Regions from separate parts of the Homo sapiens genome. Here regions 1, 2, 3, 4, 5 and 6 are each linked to region 7. The links are contacts of gene promoters, found by promoter capture Hi-C in blood cells and fetal thymus (Javierre and others, 2016). All regions are on one chromosome and are shown on one strand. Each heading gives the region's core, a stretch centred on a gene start or on the middle of the fragment in contact. The rest is flanking DNA. Distances are from core to core; before and after follow the strand shown. Region 1 overlaps LOC107987284 (a long non-coding RNA gene). Region 2 has its middle 2.2 kb from the start of ANKRD60. Region 3 overlaps LOC105372694 (a long non-coding RNA gene). Region 4 overlaps CIMIP1 (ciliary microtubule inner protein 1). Region 5 has its middle 33 kb from the start of ANKRD60. Region 6 holds the start of VAPB (VAMP associated protein B and C). Region 7 holds the start of CTCFL (CCCTC-binding factor like).

Region 1 (2,700 bases), core at 201-2,700, 610 kb after region 7:
AAGCTTCCTTTTTAAAATAACTGTATGTTTTCAAAAGTGTGTAAATGTAAAAGAAAGGATTAAGTAAATAATGGCACGATATGGCAGGTGAGATGCAAATGGCAGGTTTGGGGAAAAGGGCAATCGATAAAAATAAAGGCAGCTTGGCTCTCCCGCTCTCCCAGCGCTGCAGCTCAGAGGAAAACTAAAATTAATTCCTTTTGCAGCATGACGGGGAAAAAAAGCATCCAGAAGGAAATTCATCAAACCATTAAAAGTGATCTCCCCCAGGGAAGGGGCTTGCAGGCAGGGGGAACACATTCACATTTCGCTTTAAACACATCTGGATTATTTGAATTTTTGTATTGCATAGAAGTTAACCCTTTGTCTGACTTCTTGGTTATAAATGTTTTTCTTGGAATGCCTTTTGTTTATTGCCTTTGTGATCTCTTGGGCAGGCAAAACTTCTCAACTTCATAAAATAAAATAAAAAATCCATCTTTTCTTTATAGCTTCTGGGTTTCCAGTCTCCCTGGCCCCTAGATTGTAACTGCAGTATCACACATTTCTTGCAATACTATTATGATTATTGTGTTACTTGTAAGTATTTAATTCCTCTAGAGTTGATTTCTGTATCCATGGACCATTGGTTCCATTTTCATGTTCTCCCATTTGTCAAAGGGTTCATCCATCCTCCTGTCTTGAACATCAGCTCTCTCCGTATATACCTTCTGAGTTATAAGGACAGTTCCACTTCACTTCCTGCTTCACTAATCTAGTCCCTGTCACGACACCAAAACTGACTTGGTTACAGGACCTTTAGAGCCTATACTAATACCTGGATAGGTAAATCCTCCATCACTCTTCTCATTTTCCACATTTCCTAGCTATTCTGAGGGCATCTCTTCTTCCATAGGAACTCTAAGATTATATTTTTATTTGAGTATGCATTATTTCAATAATTTAAAAAATAAAATATTTTATTATTAAAAAGGTGGCCAGGTGTGGTGGCTTATGCCTGTAACTCCAGCACTTTGGGAGGCCAAGTCGGGTGGATCACTTGAGGTCAGGAGTTCGAGACCAACCTGGCCAACATGGCGAAACCCTGTGTCTACTAAAAATACAAAAATTAGCTGGGTGTGGTGGCGAGCGCCTGTAATTCCAGCTACTCAGGAGGCTGAGGCAAGAGAATTGCTTGAACCTGGGAGGCGGAGGTTGCAGTGAGCCGAGATTGTGCCACTACACTCCAGCCTGGGCGACAGAGCGAGACTCTGTCTTTAAAAAAAAAAAAAAAAAAACTCCTTGTCCAAAAAAAAAAAAAAGTGGGGGGAGGCGGCACCACCAGATGCTGGTGAGGATTGGAGTACCGAGAGCTCTCACCCCTGGTTGGTGGGAATGCAAAATGGTGCAGCCACTTTGGAAGACAGTTTCACAGCTTCTTGCAAAGTTACACATATTCTTTCCATACCACACAGCAATTGTGCTCCCTGATATTTACCCAGAGGATTTGTTTAGAGCAGCTTTCATCATAATTGCCAAAACTTAGAATCCACCGCGATGTCCTTGGGTTGGTGAATGGATGAACTGTAGTACATCCAGGCACTGGAATTTTATTCAGTACTAAGAAAGGAACAAGCTATCGAGATAGGAAAAGATGTGGAGGAAACCGACGGCATGTTACTAAGTGAAAGAAGTCAGTCTGAAAAGCACACACTGTATGGTTCCAACTCTATGGCCACACTAAGGAGGCACAAAACAAAGAAAAGATGCGCAAAAGACAAAAACAAACACAATTAGGGAGGCGAGTGTCCCGCTCTGGTGGGGGATGTTGATAGTGAGGGAGGCCGTGCCTGTGTGGAGGCAGGGGGTTTATGGAAAATCTCTGCACCTTCTACTCAGTTTTGCTGTGAACTTGAAACTGCTCTTAAAAAAATAAGGTCTTTTTTTTAAAGGGAGGGAGGGATCTTTTAAATTGTCTCTTTCTTGTATATCAAAAGCTAAGCTATGCCAGCATCTGAAACAGAAAGTGGCTGAGGGTACCTCTGTCACTTGGACCTCTTCTGCTCACAGCCTCCCTGAACTGGTGGCCAGGGAAGGCAGTGGGAGGAGAGGACCAAGTCTCAAACTCCAGAAGCCCCACCTCCCTGAGCTCAGCAACTCTGCCAAGCCCCCTCAGGTAAGCCAGCAGGGAGGCGGTGGGGGCTCTATAGAGTGAGCACTTCTCAGCCAGTTACCTGGCTAGGAGCCCAGCAATTCTTGCTAGAACCCCGCGGATGTGGTGCCAGTTTGAATAAGAGTCAGCTCTGGCTGATTCTTGCAGACAAAGTGAGGTGGAGCTCTCTCTTTGAGCGTTCTACTATGCACAGGACTGCAGGTGGGAAATCGCTGTCAGGAAGGACAGAGGGAGGAAAACGTTGACAGCGCAGATAAAAGGGGTCAAGTTCACGGGACTTTGACCATGTCCCAGGCATTGTGCTGTGCCTGCACTCCTGTCATCCCCCCATTCTACAGACAACTATTCAGAGAGATTAATTCTTTCACCCATGACCACCCAGCTTACGGGGGCACTTGGAGCTCACCTGTCGGCTCCAACCCCTTCTCACTGCTCAGTGCAAGAGTAAGGCAATACACTGCCGGCCCCACCCTGGAGGAAAATACTCGGCTCTGAATCTGCACCTCTCCCAAGTAGGTATTTACAAACAAAAGAACTCAGCGCTCCCG
Region 2 (2,700 bases), core at 171-2,670, 710 kb after region 7:
TCTATGAAGACACCTTTGGAGTGAGCTGTGCCTGGGAGAAACCCATCTGTGCTTTTCCCTTCATTCACCGGAGATGAGGCTGAGTGTTCAAGTAAACAGGAAGCTTACCTGTGGTGGTCAAATTACAAACACTCAACATGGCACCCATGAATAATTAGAAAATACAAGCGCCGAAGTGACGGGGGCGGGAGCTAGGAGGGCGAGGGGAAACAGAACAATCTTGGAAAAATCTCGGTTGTTGCAAAAAAAGAATAAAATGTATGCTTAAAAATTATTTTTACAGAGAAATTACAGCCATAAAAAATATCTGTGCATTGGAAAGGCACTCATATTATAGAAAAATGTTAACATATAAACGGAAATTGTAAAGGTTAGATTATTTACCAAAGAGTCTCTACAATCTCTCCAAGCATGTTGTGATTCAGCATGCAAATTATACACATCACAACACAAACTGAAGCTCATTTTTTTCCTTAACGGAAAATTAAGCTCTGAATAGAATACAAGATTCCAGTTGAATAATTCTACTTGCTGCTAGATCAACAGATTTTAACAAAACAATCTCAATTTGCGGGCAATAAAAAAAAATTAAAAATTGCTGGTTACCAAAGCAAAACAATATCTCCATTTACTTTAGGCAAGAATTAAACACACGACGGATTGACTGATTTTTTTTTTAATATGTAGCTTCTGATTTATTAACTCACTTTTTGCCGACGCTGCCTAAATGCTACCCTGGGGTATAATTTGCAATTCTCACATAGGTACCTTATTATTATTTTGGCGTGGTGTATATACGCCTATCTTTCTTTTAAAAGAATCAGTTAAATGGAATTTGGAGGTGGAAGTCACATCCTCTATACTAGAAAATTCAATACATAGCTTCAAGAATTTCATTTAAAAATAAAGACAAGACAAACAAGAAAAAGACCAAAGGGCAGAATAGAAATAGCTTACAAGCCCTTAGCAGAGCTAGCTCTTGAACCCCAAATGGGCTGTTTCCTCCTTCCTTCCCTTATCCTACCTTTGAGAACATAAAAATAGAAACACGAAAAATGACATGTGCATACATGTAAGTAAAATTTGTTCAAATGGTTAGAAAATCTTAAATTACTGATTTAAAAAACCTGGTTAAATTCTAGAGCATCTTTCTCTTAGTCTAAATTTGAAACGCATGAAATCTAAGCGGTGTGTACTTAAGTCAATTTGAAGAGTATATAATTTGACCCCCAAAGTCACAGGTGCGTAGAACTTGTGGGCAGGTTATGATCAGAACTAGGTTTTCCTTTTTTTGGTTAAGATTCTAAAGCATTAGATATAAAGTCAATATCCATGCATCTCAGTTATCAATTTCCCTCCCAAGTTTAAACATATAGCATATCCATATAAAAATGGAAAAACCTCAGTTATCCATTTCCCTCTCAAGTTCTTAAACATATGACAGCATATCCATATAAAAATGAAAAATCTTTCAGCTTTATGCCTCTATCAAAGGCCAACACATATCTTCATGGAAACAGTTCCTGTCAGGCAGGGAGGAGTGAGTGCCTGAGGAAAAGTTCCAAGTAGTTTATAACAAAGGCACAATATTAGAAAGACTGCCATCAATCATTCTTTAGATTTCTTTATCACATTTTTCAAAAATAAACAAATCGAACCATATTTGTAGCAACTCAAAGTGCAGCATAGATTTAAATGATGTATTTGTTCAGCTCACTGATAGGGGGCAAATACTACATTAATATATTTTCTTCCTGTCAAGAGTTATTTACATATGTACAGTATTTCAGTTAAAAATATAACACCATAAACTATATTTTATAGGAAATCATAAGGGAAGGAAATATGCAGGTCTATTAAAGACTTAAGAGCTTCTAATAAACTACTTTACTTGGAGAGGGTTGGGGGGACTTCAGATCATACAGTCTGCCATGGAGAAAAGAACTTGCTGGCAGACAGCCTGATGGTTCAGAGGCTCCAGTGCCCAGTTAGCCACCTGGTCTGCAATCTTTCCACAGACTTACTGATCAGGCTTGATCAGGATGGCCCAGCCATCCAGAAAAAGCCCCCATCAGGTTCAGTCCCTTCGGGGTACAGATGGAAAAGGCGTCAATCACTGAGTGCACAGTATGAAAGGTTCCAAAATCTCCCCCAGCTGGTATAATACAATCAGTTCCCCTTCAAGTTATGGTAAGCCATATGTGCCAAGCATGAAATAATCAGATTGCAACTCATCACGGAAGTAGTTAATTCTGTTTTTCTAGTACAGCAGTGTCTATGATATTCCGCCGCTTTGGTTCTAGGGCTGCAAAAAAGGAAACATCTTGGTCCCGGTCTGACTGCAATGCTAAGATGGTCTCTTCAATGACTTCAAGATGAGGGTTACCAGCATTTCTAAAATACGCTAAAGAGAGAAACCATGAGTCTGAATCAGGTAAGCCATGAACAGTGTTCAAAACACACTCGGTTTTGTTTTTTGTTAGCCACATGTCAGGACAATAAATCAAAGAGTATTTCTAAAATGTTAAAGATGGACTCCCAACAGTTATGCATATTTTTAAAATTATAGTAACTATCTTTTTTCCCTGCAATACAAAAGAAATGGCAATGTGCAGAGCAGGAGCAGGTTGTAGGTAGGGTGGGGCAGGGGGTGAGGTGGCAAGAAATGTACATGTAGGGCAGAGTTCAAGATATTTTCCT
Region 3 (2,700 bases), core at 191-2,690, 650 kb after region 7:
CAGTGCAGAAAAGGTCAGGTCCCCACAGCCAGCGGGCAGGCTCAGAGCACAAGTACAGCCCCCACCTCCATCCCCCGCCCCAGGGTGTGGGAGGAGAAAGGAGAGAAGGAAAAGAGGGAGGGAGGGAGGGACAGAGACAGAAAGAGAGGAGAAGGGAAAGAAAAACAGACAAGTAGAGGCAAAAACAAGGGAGAGAGAGAGACAGAAAGGCAGGCAGGCAGAAAAAGAAAAGAAAGGGAGGAAGACATTGAAAGGACAGGAAGACAGAGTGAGCGAGAAACGGGGAACAGGAGGGGATGGGAGGGAAGAAGATTTTCCTTTTTCCTTCCTTTTCTTTCTCTGAACTTCAGCACAGGGAGAATCTGCATTCCCAGGACAGGAGCACCTCCCCCAGCAGCCCTAGTGTGCGCTGAGCAACTGGGCAGAACCAGACTGCATGGGTTCAAGTCCCCACTGGCCACCCGCAGCCACTGCATCCCATTATCCCAGGTGAACGGTTTCCTCTTGAGTGATCAGGGCCTCGTCTGTGTCCTCCCTGTAGTGTGGAGAGGACATGGATGGACTCTGCGTTTATGCCCCGGCAGGCACGCACCATAGGGGCTGTGCCTTGGAGCTTGGAATAGGGATTCCTCCAACAGCAGCCATCACTTGAGAAGGGGCCACAGCTCCATCTACCCAGGAGAGGGCCAGATTATGCCCATACTGCAGGTTAGCATCTGTCCCATAGAGAAGGGTCCTGGTGTGGTCACTTGTTCTGTCCCTGGGTGACGGGATGGACAAGGGGGATGGTGGTGATAGTCCCCATGTTAGTCACCAGCTGGGAGCTGGCTTGGGTTCAGGTCTCACTTCCATCACTAACTTAGGCCGGGCTGGGGCACCAGGTCCTGGCTTGGCTTGCGCCCTGAGTAGAGCTGGTCCTGACAGCGGAGACCCTGTGCCCAAGTCCCCCCTGGGAAGTCAGTGTCCCCATAAGGGCAGTTGAGTCCAATGTGCAGAGGCCCTGAAGGAGGTGATCGTACTTCTATCCCTGGTCCCCCACTCTCCAGCCATGAGTGTTGGGCAGCCCCTGATGGGGCCCTGACCTATAAAATGGGGGTCTCATAGCTGACTTCAAAAGACCCTGGGGGGACCCACTCAGATGACTCACAGGGTGGGTTCTCGCAGTGGCTGCCAGCTGTCCCCACCATTACCCTTGGAGACCACAGGCCCAATCTGAGGAGCCTCTTACGAGAGGGGGTCATGAGTCTGGGGCTTACTGGGGCTCTCGAGATACTCATTCCCCACTTTCTTCCAACCCCCTAGAAGCGCCTCCAGCCCCCATGCCCCTGGGCTGATGAGAAATTCAGTTCCAGCCAAATGGAGGCTGCTGTTACGCCCGCACCTTCTCAAAGCCCCAGAGGCCTAGCATGGAGCCAAACTCTTGGGGAAGCCCCGAACTCTCAGTTCACAATGGTCAGTCATCACTTACAAGAACAGCAAGGGCAACTATTTATTGAGCACTTCTTTTATGCCAGGCATTGCTCTAAGTGCTTTATGTGTTTAAATAATCCTGACTGCAGATTACAGAGGGGCACCATTCCTATCGCAGATGAGGCTCGCCTAAGGCCACCAGCAAAGTGATTCAGCCTACTTCAAACCCTGAGGTGTGGCTCTGGTCCCTAGGCTCTTGATATACATAGACCCTAAGGGTCTCTTGAGGGCAGAGGCCAAGAGGTGGAGGCAGAGGGGCTTTGGAGAAGCAGGGGCCTGGGCATCCAGGGTCTAGCCTGGCAGGAATTCCTGGCAGCCCTACCAATGCAGACTCTGCCATCTGCCCAGGAAGCTGTGAGACTGGGCTGTGGCCCCCCCAGCCCTAGGACCCCCTCCCAGCTTGGTGGCTGTTTTTCTCACTATCTCAGCCATGCCCCCCACAAGGCATCTTCCTTTTGAAAATAAAAACCAGGAGTGGGCAATTTCAGTCCCCCACTCCATACCACAAAACCCTGATGAAGGAGTTCCACTGCCTTCTGGGAAGAGGAGAAAGGAAACACACACACACACACACAAGAGCAAGTCACAAATTAACATCACAGCACATGAGGTAGGCACACCTGCATTTCTGCAGACACGCCTGGGCTCAGGAGACTGCCAAGCCCCAACCAGCCTGTGTCCTGCAGGGATGTATATCCCACTTCCAGCAACAGTAGGGCCCTGACATTTAATCCTGAGGAGGTGACCCCCACTGGCATCTCTGAACTGGGCCTTGACAAATAGCAGTCACTTCTGAATCCATTCCCCCAAAAGGTCACCAGCCAGACGCCAACAAAAAACCCAGCCATCGCTGTCACATGCCGTCAGTCTTCCCCCACCCCCACCTTCTCCCCCATCTGTCTGGCTTGTGGAATCCTGTTCTGGCAGGAAGGTACTAGCCAAGACCCCCACCTGCCAGGGCCTGTCACCCTCCTGACTCCCAGAATTCCCTCCTTCCCCCTCACCAAGTGGGGGATTCTCAAGCCTCTGTCCTCACCCCGGGGAGGACCACCAGGGTAGTGGGCCCAAACCCTCCCCTGCTGCCTGGGGTCAGACACAACGGGCTTGCCTTGAAGCAGAGGGGCCAAGGGTCCTTCCCTACACCTGGAGAAACCAAAGCCCCATGACCAAGTGTTGGCCCCATACCCTGGGAAAGAAAACCCTCTGTGAAAGTACAGCAATCCCAGCTCC
Region 4 (2,700 bases), core at 20-2,519, 630 kb after region 7:
GACGCTCTCCTCTAATATTTTAAAGTTCGGTCCTGAAAACTTTTTGGCATTTTTTGTTAGTTTGTTTGTTGTTGTTTGAGACAGGGTCTGGATCTGTCACCCAGGCTGGAGTGCAGTGGCATGATCTCAGCTCACTGCAGCATCCACCTCCAGGCTGAAGCCATCCTGTCACCTTGGCTCCCAAGTAGCTGGGACCACAGGCACATGCCATCATGCCCAGCTAATTTTTGTATTTTTTGAAGAGATGGAGTCTTGCTAAGTTGCCCAGGCTGGTCTTGAACTCCTGAGCTCAAGCAATCCTCCCACCTCGGCCTCCCAAAGTGTTGGGATTACAGGCATGAGCCACCACACTCAACCCTTTTTGGCATTTTAAAACTTGAGTCCGTAACTGGTAACGTTTTCTCAAATTCCCCCACAGGGGATGTAAATCAGGAGGCTGTGGTGAGCAGCAGGAGGGGATGGAGATGGGTCTCAGCTTTGGGTGCAGCAGGCCTGCGTTGAGGTCCCCACCCTACTTTCCTAACGGTGTAACTAAGACAAGCCTCTGCCTCCCATTTCCATGCCCCACTTCTGTGTCTATAAAATGCGCCTTCTAGGGGAAGCAATGGGGAGGACACTCCCCCAGCTTCACCTGAGGCTTCCCGTCTCTGGGGATTCTGTTTCAGTACATTTCCCCCAGCTTCACGTAAGACTTCCCATCTCTGGGGATTCTGTTTCAGTTGATCAAGTGTGAAGAAGATCTCCCCACCCCAAAGCCCAAAATCGAGCTTCCTGAGCGTTTCCGCATCCGGCCGGTGACCCCAGTGGAGAAGTACATCAAGGTTTGAAACGTTTTTAAATACTCATTTTTTTAAAATACTCATTTTCCTAAGTAAGAAATAAGCCCCAGTGGAAACTGATGGCTCCAGATGTGCAAAGCCAGCACTGAAGGTAAGAGCACAGCAGTGCCAGGTGCAGAGTCCAGGTCCACGTCCTTCCCAAACCCAGCCATGGGAAACATGCCAGGCTAAAGTCTACAAGTGCAAGCACCATGACCTCCTGCTCTGCAGAAGCAGAGAGAAGGCAGGAAAATGGGGTCTTCATGCGTTCTTTCAGCAAACATTTCCAGGGTGTGGGCAGGAAGGCAGGGCAGACCCAGGCAGGGACTCTGGAATCAGACCACCAGATCCCTGTGCTGATAGGCTGCTCACCTTCTGTGTGGTCTTGGGCAAGTGGCTTGACCTCTCTGTGTCTCCCCTGCCTGTCTTATACAATGGGGGTTAATGAAGCACCTACTTCAGGGAGTACCCTCAGGGTTCAGCAGGCTGCCCAGCATGTTTAGAGAGTGCCGATGACAGTCAGCTATTACTAAGGTGCAACAGCTTGGTTGGGAAAACAGTAATGAACAAGAAGGCAAGACCCCAGCCCACATGTCTGGGTCTAGAGAACCAACATTAACCAAGAAAATCAACACCATTTGGATACGCTATGCTAGCACCATGGAGGAAACAGGCCGGTGGTGTGTCACAGGATAAGAGAGGGCGGGGTGGTCAGGGAAGGGGCCCTTTGAGCTGAGGACTGAAGGATGACCAGGCACCAGCCCTAGGAAAAGTATTCTAGGCGCAGGGAACAGCATGTATGAAAGCCCTGAGATAGAACACAGGCTGCTATGTTTCAGGAACAGCAAGGCAAGGCGATGCGACAGGAGCTTGGGTGGAGGGTGGGGGCAGGAGGAGAAGGTGTGGGTGGAGAAGGGATGTGAGTGGAAAAGTGGGCAGGCTAGAAGAAGGAGTTGCAATTGGAGTCCAATTTAGAGAAGCCGCTGGAGGGTTGTAAGCAGGGCCATGGAAAGGCAAGACCTGCCTATTGGAAAGATGGCTCTCATTGCTAGTGGAGAAAAGATTGTGGGGAGAGGGACAGGAGTGACCAGGCCAAACCCAGAGAAAAGAGGCCTTAGACGATGCTCTCACCTGAAGCCTGCACCACGGCGGACATGGCTCAGATCCCTCTAGAAACAGTTGAGCTCCATATGTCTCATGGGTCTGTCATTTTGGCTGGGAGTTCTGCCCTCTGCCCAGCTATGGAGAAGGTGGTTCTGCGTGCTGATGGGGAGAGCAGATGAAAACCCAAGATGAAGGCCGCAGGGCAGGAGGAGTTCAGCTGCAGCCTTTTGCCTGGCATGCTCGTGGTCTGATGGGGTAGCTGGCACATAGTGAGCATTTGGGGGGTATGCATCTGTGAGCCCCAATGAATGAATGAATGAATGAGCTCCACTGAGTTATGTTGACAGTTTTTACCCCAAATATAAAGCAATATAGAGTCACTGCTAAAAAATATTTAGAAATACACCAAAATATAATATAATTAAAACCCACATATAGGCTCTTACCCATGATTAACATTTTGGGGGTGCTCCTTCCAGAGGTTTTCCTACACATCCCTTGACCTGTAAGAGTAACCACCCCACCAGCTCAAGCTATTATTATCTCTTAGCCGCTCACCGTGGTGACTGCTTTACATTGGGTGTCTCATCTTACTTCCACTGCAGCCCCGGATATTATCATCCTCAAACCCATTTTGCAGATGGGAAAGCTGAAGCTTAAAAAAGCTGAATTCCTTTCTCTGGCCACACAGCAAGTGTGTCTGATTCCAGAGCCCTGCTTTTAAATGTTACCCTCAAATATTCCTCAAATGTATGTTCATGTATACGTATATACACAC
Region 5 (2,700 bases), core at 123-2,622, 670 kb after region 7:
TAATTAGTCAGCAGCTGGTTAAATTAATTATAGTTTGTGTGCACAATAAAATTGTTGAAAACAATTTTTTTAAAGAATATTCATGTAAAAAGATGTGCACCATAAAAATTGTAGCATAGAATGTATAGTATAATCTCATTTAGATAGATAGATAGACAGAGAGACAGACAGACAGACAGACAGACAGAAAACAGCCTGGAAAGGTATGGACTGTATCAGTTAGGAAGCTCTTGGCTAGAAATAACAAAGAATCCACTAATGTGACTTTAAAAATTAAGAGTTTGTCTTCTCACATCAGAAAAAGGTGAGTGGCAGCTGCTAACCCTGGCTCAGCAGCTCCATGGATAACAGCTGCAGTCTCTGCAATTTTCTTGGTCTTAATGATGGCAAAATGGCTGCCTCATCTCTAGTCATCACATCTGAATTCAAGGCCAGGAGGAAGAAACAAAAGGCATCTCTAGCAATGCTGTCCTTTTATTAAGTAAGCAAAAGCTTTCTCAGCAACCCTCGCACACTTCTCATTGGCCAGAACTTGTCACATGGCCACCGCCAGCTGCAAGACCGGCTGGGGAATAGGGTTATTTCTACCTGTACAGTGAAATCAGGCGATGGAGGAGGAAGCTGGGAGCTGGTTGGAGGACAGCCGATCTGCCAAGTCTGCCCCAAACCCAGACTGTTTGTGTTGATTATCTTCAGTGGGACAAATGAAGCGAAATCTCCACTTTTTATGTTGTCCATGTCTGGACCACTTGAAGTTCATTAAGAATTAATATTATTACTTTTACAGTCCTCTTCCCAGCCAAGCTCCTGAGATTAAAAAAATAATAATAATGAGTCTTGGGCCAGGCATGGTGGCTCACGCCTGTAATCCAAGCACTTTGGGAGGCCGAGGTAGGAGGATCACTTAAGGTCAGGAGCTTGAGACTAGCCTGGCCAACATGGTGAAACCCCGCCTCTATTAAAAGTACAAAAGTCAGCCAGATGTGGTGGCAGATGCCTGTAATCCCAGCTACTCAGTAGGCTGAGACAGGAGAATTGCTTGAACCTGGGGTGGAGCTTGCAGTGAGCTGAGATCAAGCCACTCCACTCCAGCCTGGGTGACAGAGTGAGACTCCGTCTCTAAATAAATTAATTAATTAATTAAAAAAAAATGAGTCTCCACTTCCTGCCTCAGCTTCTCTGTGCCCACCCACCCACCTTTCCCCATCCCCTCTGCCTCCACCTCCTCTCGACTCCTCTGAATCCCCCTGGAGAGACCTGCTGTGGCCGCCCTGTAGCCTAACCCAACCCACCTTCCAATCCTCCTCATCCTACGTCACCCATCCTGGTTATCACCTCCGTCTTGAAATCCTTGCTATTCTTTCCCTCTGGGATTTGGCATGCCATGCTATTGTGTAAGCCACGCAAAGGAAGGGACGTTCTCTATTTTGTTCACTGCTGCTGTGTCTGCCCAGAACAGCACCTGGCACGTAGTAGGTGCTCAAGGATGTTTGATGAGTGGGCGAATGAACAAGTGGACAGCAGAAATCCTGCACCCCCTCTGCTTAGACTGCCACTTCTCAGTCTTGGGCATCATGGCGGCAGCCATGGAAATGTCCCCGAAGACCTCTTACTGCCTGCAGGGGGTGGAACTGGCCTTGGGTAGCCCCAGCTGCCTCCCTTTGAAAACATCCTGGCTTTCACGCCTAAGGCACGCTCTGCCCATCACGGGCATGTCCAGGACGCTAAGATGGATCCCTTCTGCAAGATACTGCCTTGCAGTGCATTCGAACACACGTCCGTCCCCTTCCTTCGCTTTCTCCTTACAAGGTTCTCCCAGCGTCCCTGCCTCCTCCCCATTTCCCTATCTCTTGCATGGGTGTCTACTTCTCCGAGGACCCAGACACCCAGCATCTCTCCCCCACCTGGCTCTCCAGCGCATCCCCTTGGGTTCTCTCCTCGACCCTCCTCTTCTCGTGCCACCAGCTTTCCCTGTGGCTCCTCATCCACACCCTCGCCTGATGCGCACGTGCACACACACAGACACACACAAACACACACAGACACACACACACAGACACACACACACAGACACACAGACACACACAGACACACACACACAGACACACAGACACACACACAGACACACACAGACACACACACACAGACACACACACAAACACACACACACACACACAGACACACACATTTTTTCCTAAACCTAGGTTTCTATCCCTAACCCTTTGTGCTGCCTCCGGAGTGTCCCACTGGCCTGAAGCTTAGCACAACCACACTGAGCTGGTCACCTTCACCTCTAGCCCCGCTGGCCCATCCATCTTACCACCACCCCGTCACCGGGGCCACCTCTCCTGGGCCTCCTCCTCTCCCACTCCACCCCGTCACCGGGGCCACCTCTCCTGGGCCTCCTCCTCTCCCACTCTGCCCCGTCACCGGGGCCACCTCTTCTGGCCCTCCTCTCCCACTCCGCCCCGTCACCGGGGCCACCTCTCCTGGCCCTCCGCCTCTCCCTCGCTTCTTTTCTCCTTGCTAGGTCAGCAGATCTTTGAGGACGGAGCCAGGCTCACACTTCTGTGGCACTGATGCTGTCCCACCAGCACACCGTCGTAAGCATTCACGATTCATGAGGCTGCTTTTCAGCAAAGGAGAATCCCCCTTTCTCTTGAACTCTACAACCTTTCATCTGTTCAATATCTGTAGGTG
Region 6 (2,700 bases), core at 5-2,504, 860 kb after region 7:
AAGTATGCATGCCCAAAAGTTTGAAGTAACCACTAAAACTTAGAAATAGAGTATACAGGTGAAGAAAATCAGAATGAGAATAAAAATAAACCCTAAAGAAGAAAGGAAAGGGGAAAAAAACCAGGCAGGACAAATAGAAATAACAAAATACAATGGTAGAAATAATTCCAGATATATCAGTAAATATAATAAATGTAAATGGACTAAATGCTCCAGTTAAAATACAAAGACTATTCTTTTAAAAAACCTTTTTATCATGAAAAATTTCAAGTATACAGCAAAGTGGGAGAAACAGTACAAGAAAACCATATACCTGCGATGTAGAGTCAGCCATTGCTAGCAATTTGCCACATTTGTCTCACCTATATGGGTATGTATAGGAGACTATTAAGAACACCTATTTAACTTCCATAGTAAACATAATATAATGAAATACAATTTAAACGGTAATCATGATGTAGAGTATCCACTTTTGAGGTCAAGCAGATCTGGATTCTCCAGCAATTTTTAATTATTTAACTTACGTGTGTGGTTATTTATTCAAAAGATGTCTCTTCACTAGGCTATAGTAAAAGGATTGGAATCAGGTTCGCTTTTCTGATCATTGTATTTCTAAATATTTGTTGCATAAACAAATAGAATTTACTAGTAAAGAATTCAGCACAGTGCCAGTTGCATAGTAAACATTTAACGTAGAGTAGCTTGTATTTATTGTAGTTGCTGTTGTTATTGGAAGCATTCAGTAGAGTGATACAAAATAAATAAGCAATAATTGGTAGTTTATTATATTTATAATTATTATTTACAAGACGTCACAGTGCCTAGCCCATATCACTCACCCATAAACATTATACTTATACTAAGTACTTTCACTATTATTCAAAGTCTCTAACAGTGCCTGGCACTACATAAGCAAGAGAAAAGTGGAAGTTTATTCTAATTGTTATTATTGAATAAAGCACTTAACACGAAGCTGGCCCCCAGCGGGCCCTTAATAGTTTCCGCGGTGGCTGTCGTAGCTGGACTACAGACCCCGCCTCCTGAGCGGCCCGAAGCCCCGCCCCTTACTGCCCCGCAGTCCCGCCCCCGTGGCTTGTGCCGCGCCTGCGCACTGTCCCGGAAGGGGCTCTACGCGCGCAGCTTTAGTCCCCGCCCCTGGAGCCGGCGGCGCAGGGCGCAGCTTCCCGCCGCCAGAGCGGGCCAGCCTGCTGCGTGCGTGCGTGTGTACGACTCTGCGTGCGTGCGTGCGTGCGTGCGTGCCGTCAGCTCGCCGGGCACCGCGGCCTCGCCCTCGCCCTCCGCCCCTGCGCCTGCACCGCGTAGACCGACCCCCCCCCAGCGCGCCCACCCGGTAGAGGACCCCCGCCCGTGCCCCGACCGGTCCCCGCCTTTTTGTAAAACTTAAAGCGGGCGCAGCATTAACGCTTCCCGCCCCGGTGACCTCTCAGGGGTCTCCCCGCCAAAGGTGCTCCGCCGCTAAGGAACATGGCGAAGGTGGAGCAGGTCCTGAGCCTCGAGCCGCAGCACGAGCTCAAATTCCGAGGTAAGCCCCAGAGGCCGCCACCTTCCTGCCCGCGGCCTCCGCCCCAGTGCTGGAAGGACGGAGCCCGGCGCGGCGGGTGACGTCGGCCCTCGTCCCCACCCCGACGGCGCTGTCGCGGGGGGCGGCGAGGCCGGGCCGGGCCTTGGCGCTCGCCGCGCTCCCCAGAACTGCCCGGAGTGGCCGGGACCCGAGAGGGCTGGTGCGGGAGCCGGGGCCTGCGCCTCCTCCCCGACCCCCAGCCTCCTGGGACTTGCCTTCGAGGCACTTGTCACTTTGTAACTTACCAGTTTGTGATCCTCTCTAGTGTGAGCCTCCGCCGCTGCCTTTGCCTAGAAGTTTCTTCCCCTGCTCCGTGACAGTGTTGACCTCAGGGCTTAGTTGAGGTGTCAGCTGCTCAGAGAGGCCTGCTGTGACCACCCAGCCACCGTGCACACCTGCTGTCATTCCCTATTCCGTCACTGTTTCGTGGTCAGCACGGCACTTTTCATACCCAAAATCACTGTTTCAATACTAGAAGGGAAACTGCATGAGGACAGGCTCTTGTCAGTTCGCTGCTGTGTACCCAGCACACATTATACGCCTAGTAAATAAATACCTGTTGAACCAACAGATGAACATGTTGAACCAACAAATGAACCTCCTCAGGACTTCTGATGGGATTGGGCCCATTTTCCTTTCACTGCGTCCCTCATGCTGTCTCCTGGTTGCGGTGCAAGGAGGCTGCCACGGTGCTGGGATCCTTTTTCTCCGCAGAGCTGTCTGGAGCAACACCTGCGGCGATGGGAAGCCATGACCCTGGTTTCTCCCAGATACTATTACCTCTGTAATTTGTGCCTTTATGTTTTCTATGTTGTTACTTTTGTTTTTTTTTTTTTTTTCCTACCTTCACCAGGGCCACGAGGTAAAAGTTCTTGTCTGACATGCTCATTCTTTCTTTTTGCGTGTATCCAGTGATGTGGGAGGCTCTGGGGAGGTGATGGATGCACAAGACAGATAAGGCCTCTGCTCTCACAGAGCTTACCTTCCGACGAGGACAGACAAACCAACACACAAGATCATTGCAGATAGTGCTAAGTGCTGTGTAGGAAATGGAACAGTCTGACTCCATGGAAGCGTACTTTAGATTGGAAGGCCGGGTCTCCACTATATCGCTAGCA
Region 7 (2,700 bases), core at 19-2,518:
CCACCACCTGCACCCCTTCTTGCTGCTGTATGCTCAGCAAGCTCATATCCTGCAACTCCACAGCTTCAGAAGTGAAGTGCACCGTCTGCAGGGTCAGGATGTACTTCTCGCTCTCCTCCGAGGGGGCCAGCACCAGCTCCACTTCTTCCTCCAGGACGCTGTCCTGGAAGGCCCCAGAGGTACGCTCGGCCTCCAACTCACTAGGGCTCCGATGGTCTTTCTCTCTGCACACTCCGTCTTTTTCCTCCTCCTTCAGGCCTTTTTCCGGCATCAACTCGAGTTCTTTGATCTTGGTGAATTGCTCAGAAAGGACAGAGATCTCAGTGGCTGCCATAATGACTTGGCCTGTTTGAAAAATAAGCAAGCGGTTTCCATAGGGGGGAGAAGGGGGTGGTATGAGGAGGGATGCGGGGGGTGCTGGAACCTAGCAGGCTTTGGAGTTGAAACAAGGTCTGGCCTCAAAAGGTTTTGGACTTAGTAGGGTCAGAACAATGCTGATCTGGCTTGGGTCTAGGAGGGGGTCAAGGCTAAGCAGGATTTAGGCTAAAGCAGGATTTTGTACAAAACCCTAGAACGAACAGGTTTGGGCCTCAGCAGGCTTAGGGCCAGCACACATCCTGCGCCTGGCAAGGTTCCGCCTGAGCACACTCTGGCCCAGTGCATATCCTGGGCCTAGCAAGGTTAGGCCTGAGCCGGTTCAGTCAGTGAACATCCTGGGCCTAGTAAGGTTTGGGCCCAGCAGGCTCTCGGCCAGTGCATATCCTGGGCCTAGCAAGTTTCAGGTCCAAGCAGGCCCCGGGCCAGTGCACACCCGGCGCCCAGCGAGGTTCGGGCCCGAGCAGGCATTCCCCTCGTGCACGGTTCTAGACCTAGCACCCTCAGAGCCAGGCAGGCTTTGGGCCTAGTGGCCTCGAGCCCACCCAGACTTGGCCAAGCAGCCCTCGGCCAGACCAAGCACACTCCCTCGGAGGCCTGGCAGGGCCCCTGCTTTACCCTGCCCCCCACGCCCCGCCCCGACCCGACCCTCCCAGGCAGCCCCTCAGCGTCTGCCGCCCGCCCTTGGGCCTTTCCGGCCAGCCCCTCCCTCCGCCCACGCCCAGAACAGCCCATGCTCTTGGAGGAGAGCAGGTGGGCTTGACCGGGACTGGCCCCTCACCGCGGAAGGCGTGGCCGGAATGCTCGGCCCACTCCGTCTTTGGCTTGTGGGCTCTGCCTCGTGCACCGCGTGCTGCAGCCCACAGCCGGCCGCCGCCGGGCTGGCGCGAGAGTGGAGGGTGGCAGTGCGCAGGCGCGGAGCGGAAAAGAGGGGGCGTGAAGGGGGCGGAGCCAGGCAGGGTTGGGGGAGGGGGTGATGTACTGTGGGGGCAGGGGGGAAGGGGAGTAGGGAGGGGGAGGGGGAGCACGGATGAGGAGGACCCCAGAGGGGGCACTGGTGGACCTGGGGGGGTGGATGAGGAGGGGAGGAGGGTCCCATACAGGGCACTGGGAGACCTGGGGTGGGGGTGGATAAGGAGAGGAGGAGAGCCTGCAGGGCACTGGAAGACTGGGTAGTGGGGGAGCGCCTAAGGAGGGGAGGAGGGTCCTGCAGGGGCACGGAAATACCTTGGGGTTGAAGTGGATGAGGAAGGGAGGAGGGCCCCGCAGGGGGCGCTGGGAGACCCGGGGGGGAAGTAAGGAGGGCACGAGGGCCTGCAGGGGGCCTGGGAGATCTGAGGGGGAATGGATAAGGAGGGGAGGAGGGCCCACAGGAGGCACTGAGATACTGGGGGGAGGGGTGGAATGAGGGGGGGAGGGGTGGAATGAGGCGGGGAGGATAGCCCTGCAGGGGGGCTGGGAGACCTGAGGGGGGTGGTGGGTAATGGATAAGGAGGGGAGGGGGGCCTGCAGGGGGCCTGTGACACCTAGGGGAGGGGAATGGATAAGGAGGGTAGGAGGGCCAACAGGAGGCACTGAGATACCAGGGGGAGGGGTGGAATGAGGAGGGGAGAGCCCTGCAGGGGGGCGGGGAGACCTGAGGTGAGGGTAATGGATAAGGAGGGGAGGAGGGTCTGCAGGGGTTCTTGGGAGACCTGGGGGATGAATAGGAGAGGACAAGGGGAGGAGGGTCTGCAGGGGGCCCTGGGAGCCCTGCGGGGGGCGAGGGGTGGGGGAATGGATAAGGAGGGGAGGAGGGCCTGCAAGGGGTGCTGGGAGACTTGGGGGAGGGGAATGGATAAGGAGGGGAGGAGGGCCTGCAAGGGGTGCTGGGAGACCTGGGGGAGGGGAATGGATAAGGAGAGGAGGAGGGCCCGCAGGAGGCACTGAGAGACTGGGGGGAGGGGTGGAATGAGGAGGGGAGGAGAGCCCTGCAGGGGGCGCTGGGATACCTTGTGGGGGAATGGATAAGGAGGGGAGGGGGTCCTGCAGGGGGCGCTGGGAGACCTAGGGGAGGGGAATGGATAAGGGTGGGAGGAGGGCCCGCAGGAGGCACTGAGATACTGGGGGGAGGGGTGGAATGAGGAGGGGAGGAGAGCCCTGTAGGGGGCGCTGGGAGACCTTGGGGGGAATGGATAAGGAGGGGAAGAGGGCCCTCAGGGGGCGCTGGGAGACCTGGGGGGGAAATGGATAAGGAGGGGAGGATGGCCGCAAGGGGCACTGGGAGACGCTGGCGGGGAATGGATAAGGAGTGGAGGGGGGCCTGCAAGGGGCGCTGGGAGACCT

What was found. The method cuts DNA at HindIII sites, captures the fragments that hold promoters and counts their contacts. A CHiCAGO score of 5 or more calls a contact.
Region 1: a contact is called between a fragment that was not itself captured here and the fragment with the promoter of CTCFL in region 7, in 4 of 17 cell types (endothelial precursors, M2 macrophages, monocytes and 1 more). The highest score is 8.6, in endothelial precursors.
Region 2: a contact is called between a fragment that was not itself captured here and the fragment with the promoter of CTCFL in region 7, in 4 of 17 cell types (M2 macrophages, M1 macrophages, erythroblasts and 1 more). The highest score is 11.1, in M2 macrophages.
Region 3: a contact is called between a fragment that was not itself captured here and the fragment with the promoter of CTCFL in region 7, in 12 of 17 cell types (M2 macrophages, total B cells, M0 macrophages and 9 more). The highest score is 10.3, in M2 macrophages.
Region 4: a contact is called between a fragment that was not itself captured here and the fragment with the promoter of CTCFL in region 7, in 5 of 17 cell types (M1 macrophages, endothelial precursors, M0 macrophages and 2 more). The highest score is 7.3, in M1 macrophages.
Region 5: a fragment that was not itself captured here is called in contact with the fragment with the promoter of CTCFL in region 7 in 3 of 17 cell types (endothelial precursors, M2 macrophages and naive B cells); the score reaches 7.2 in endothelial precursors.
Region 6: a contact is called between the fragment with the promoter of VAPB here and the fragment with the promoter of CTCFL in region 7, in 5 of 17 cell types (M0 macrophages, naive B cells, M2 macrophages and 2 more). The highest score is 10.2, in M0 macrophages.

Annotation. Positions count from the first base shown.
Region 1 is chr20:58,133,340-58,136,039 of GRCh38, forward strand. It overlaps LOC107987284 (a long non-coding RNA gene), which reads left to right. Exons shown (of 3, transcript XR_001754693.2): 3 at 1-488. The region is part of intron 2 of LOC107985434 (a long non-coding RNA gene); the gene reads right to left. Among named protein-coding and RNA genes, the nearest start is that of CIMIP1, 16 kb to the right of the region's middle. The HindIII fragment of the contact is 2,899 bases long and covers 2-2,700 here.
Region 2 is chr20:58,229,524-58,232,223 of GRCh38, forward strand. No RefSeq gene overlaps it. Among named protein-coding and RNA genes, the nearest start is that of ANKRD60, 2.2 kb to the left of the region's middle. The HindIII fragment of the contact is 2,638 bases long and covers 102-2,700 here.
Region 3 is chr20:58,175,154-58,177,853 of GRCh38, forward strand. All of the region lies in intron 2 of LOC105372694 (a long non-coding RNA gene), which reads right to left. Among named protein-coding and RNA genes, the nearest start is that of CIMIP1, 26 kb to the left of the region's middle. RefSeq lists an enhancer at 534-1,034. The HindIII fragment of the contact is 7,423 bases long and covers 1-2,700 here.
Region 4 is chr20:58,154,749-58,157,448 of GRCh38, forward strand. CIMIP1 (ciliary microtubule inner protein 1) reads left to right here. Exons shown (of 4, transcript NM_178456.3): 3 at 720-821. It overlaps LOC107985434 (a long non-coding RNA gene), which reads right to left. Exons shown (of 3, transcript XR_001754692.2): 2 at 1,950-2,081. Among named protein-coding and RNA genes, the nearest start is that of CIMIP1, 5.2 kb to the left of the region's middle. The HindIII fragment of the contact is 2,611 bases long and covers 1-2,575 here.
Region 5 is chr20:58,194,720-58,197,419 of GRCh38, forward strand. No RefSeq gene overlaps it. Among named protein-coding and RNA genes, the nearest start is that of ANKRD60, 33 kb to the right of the region's middle. The HindIII fragment of the contact is 1,765 bases long and covers 491-2,255 here.
Region 6 is chr20:58,387,975-58,390,674 of GRCh38, forward strand. VAPB (VAMP associated protein B and C) reads left to right here and starts at 1,255. Exons shown (of 6, transcript NM_004738.5): 1 at 1,255-1,543. The coding sequence starts at 1,486. RefSeq lists silencers at 964-1,403, 1,664-1,783. The HindIII fragment of the contact is 12,509 bases long and covers 1-2,700 here.
Region 7 is chr20:57,523,872-57,526,571 of GRCh38, forward strand. It overlaps CTCFL (CCCTC-binding factor like), which reads right to left and starts at 1,269. Exons shown (of 11, transcript NM_001386993.1): 1 at 1,157-1,269; 2 at 1-345. The coding sequence starts at 334. RefSeq lists an enhancer at 1-398. The HindIII fragment of the contact is 10,995 bases long and covers 1-2,700 here.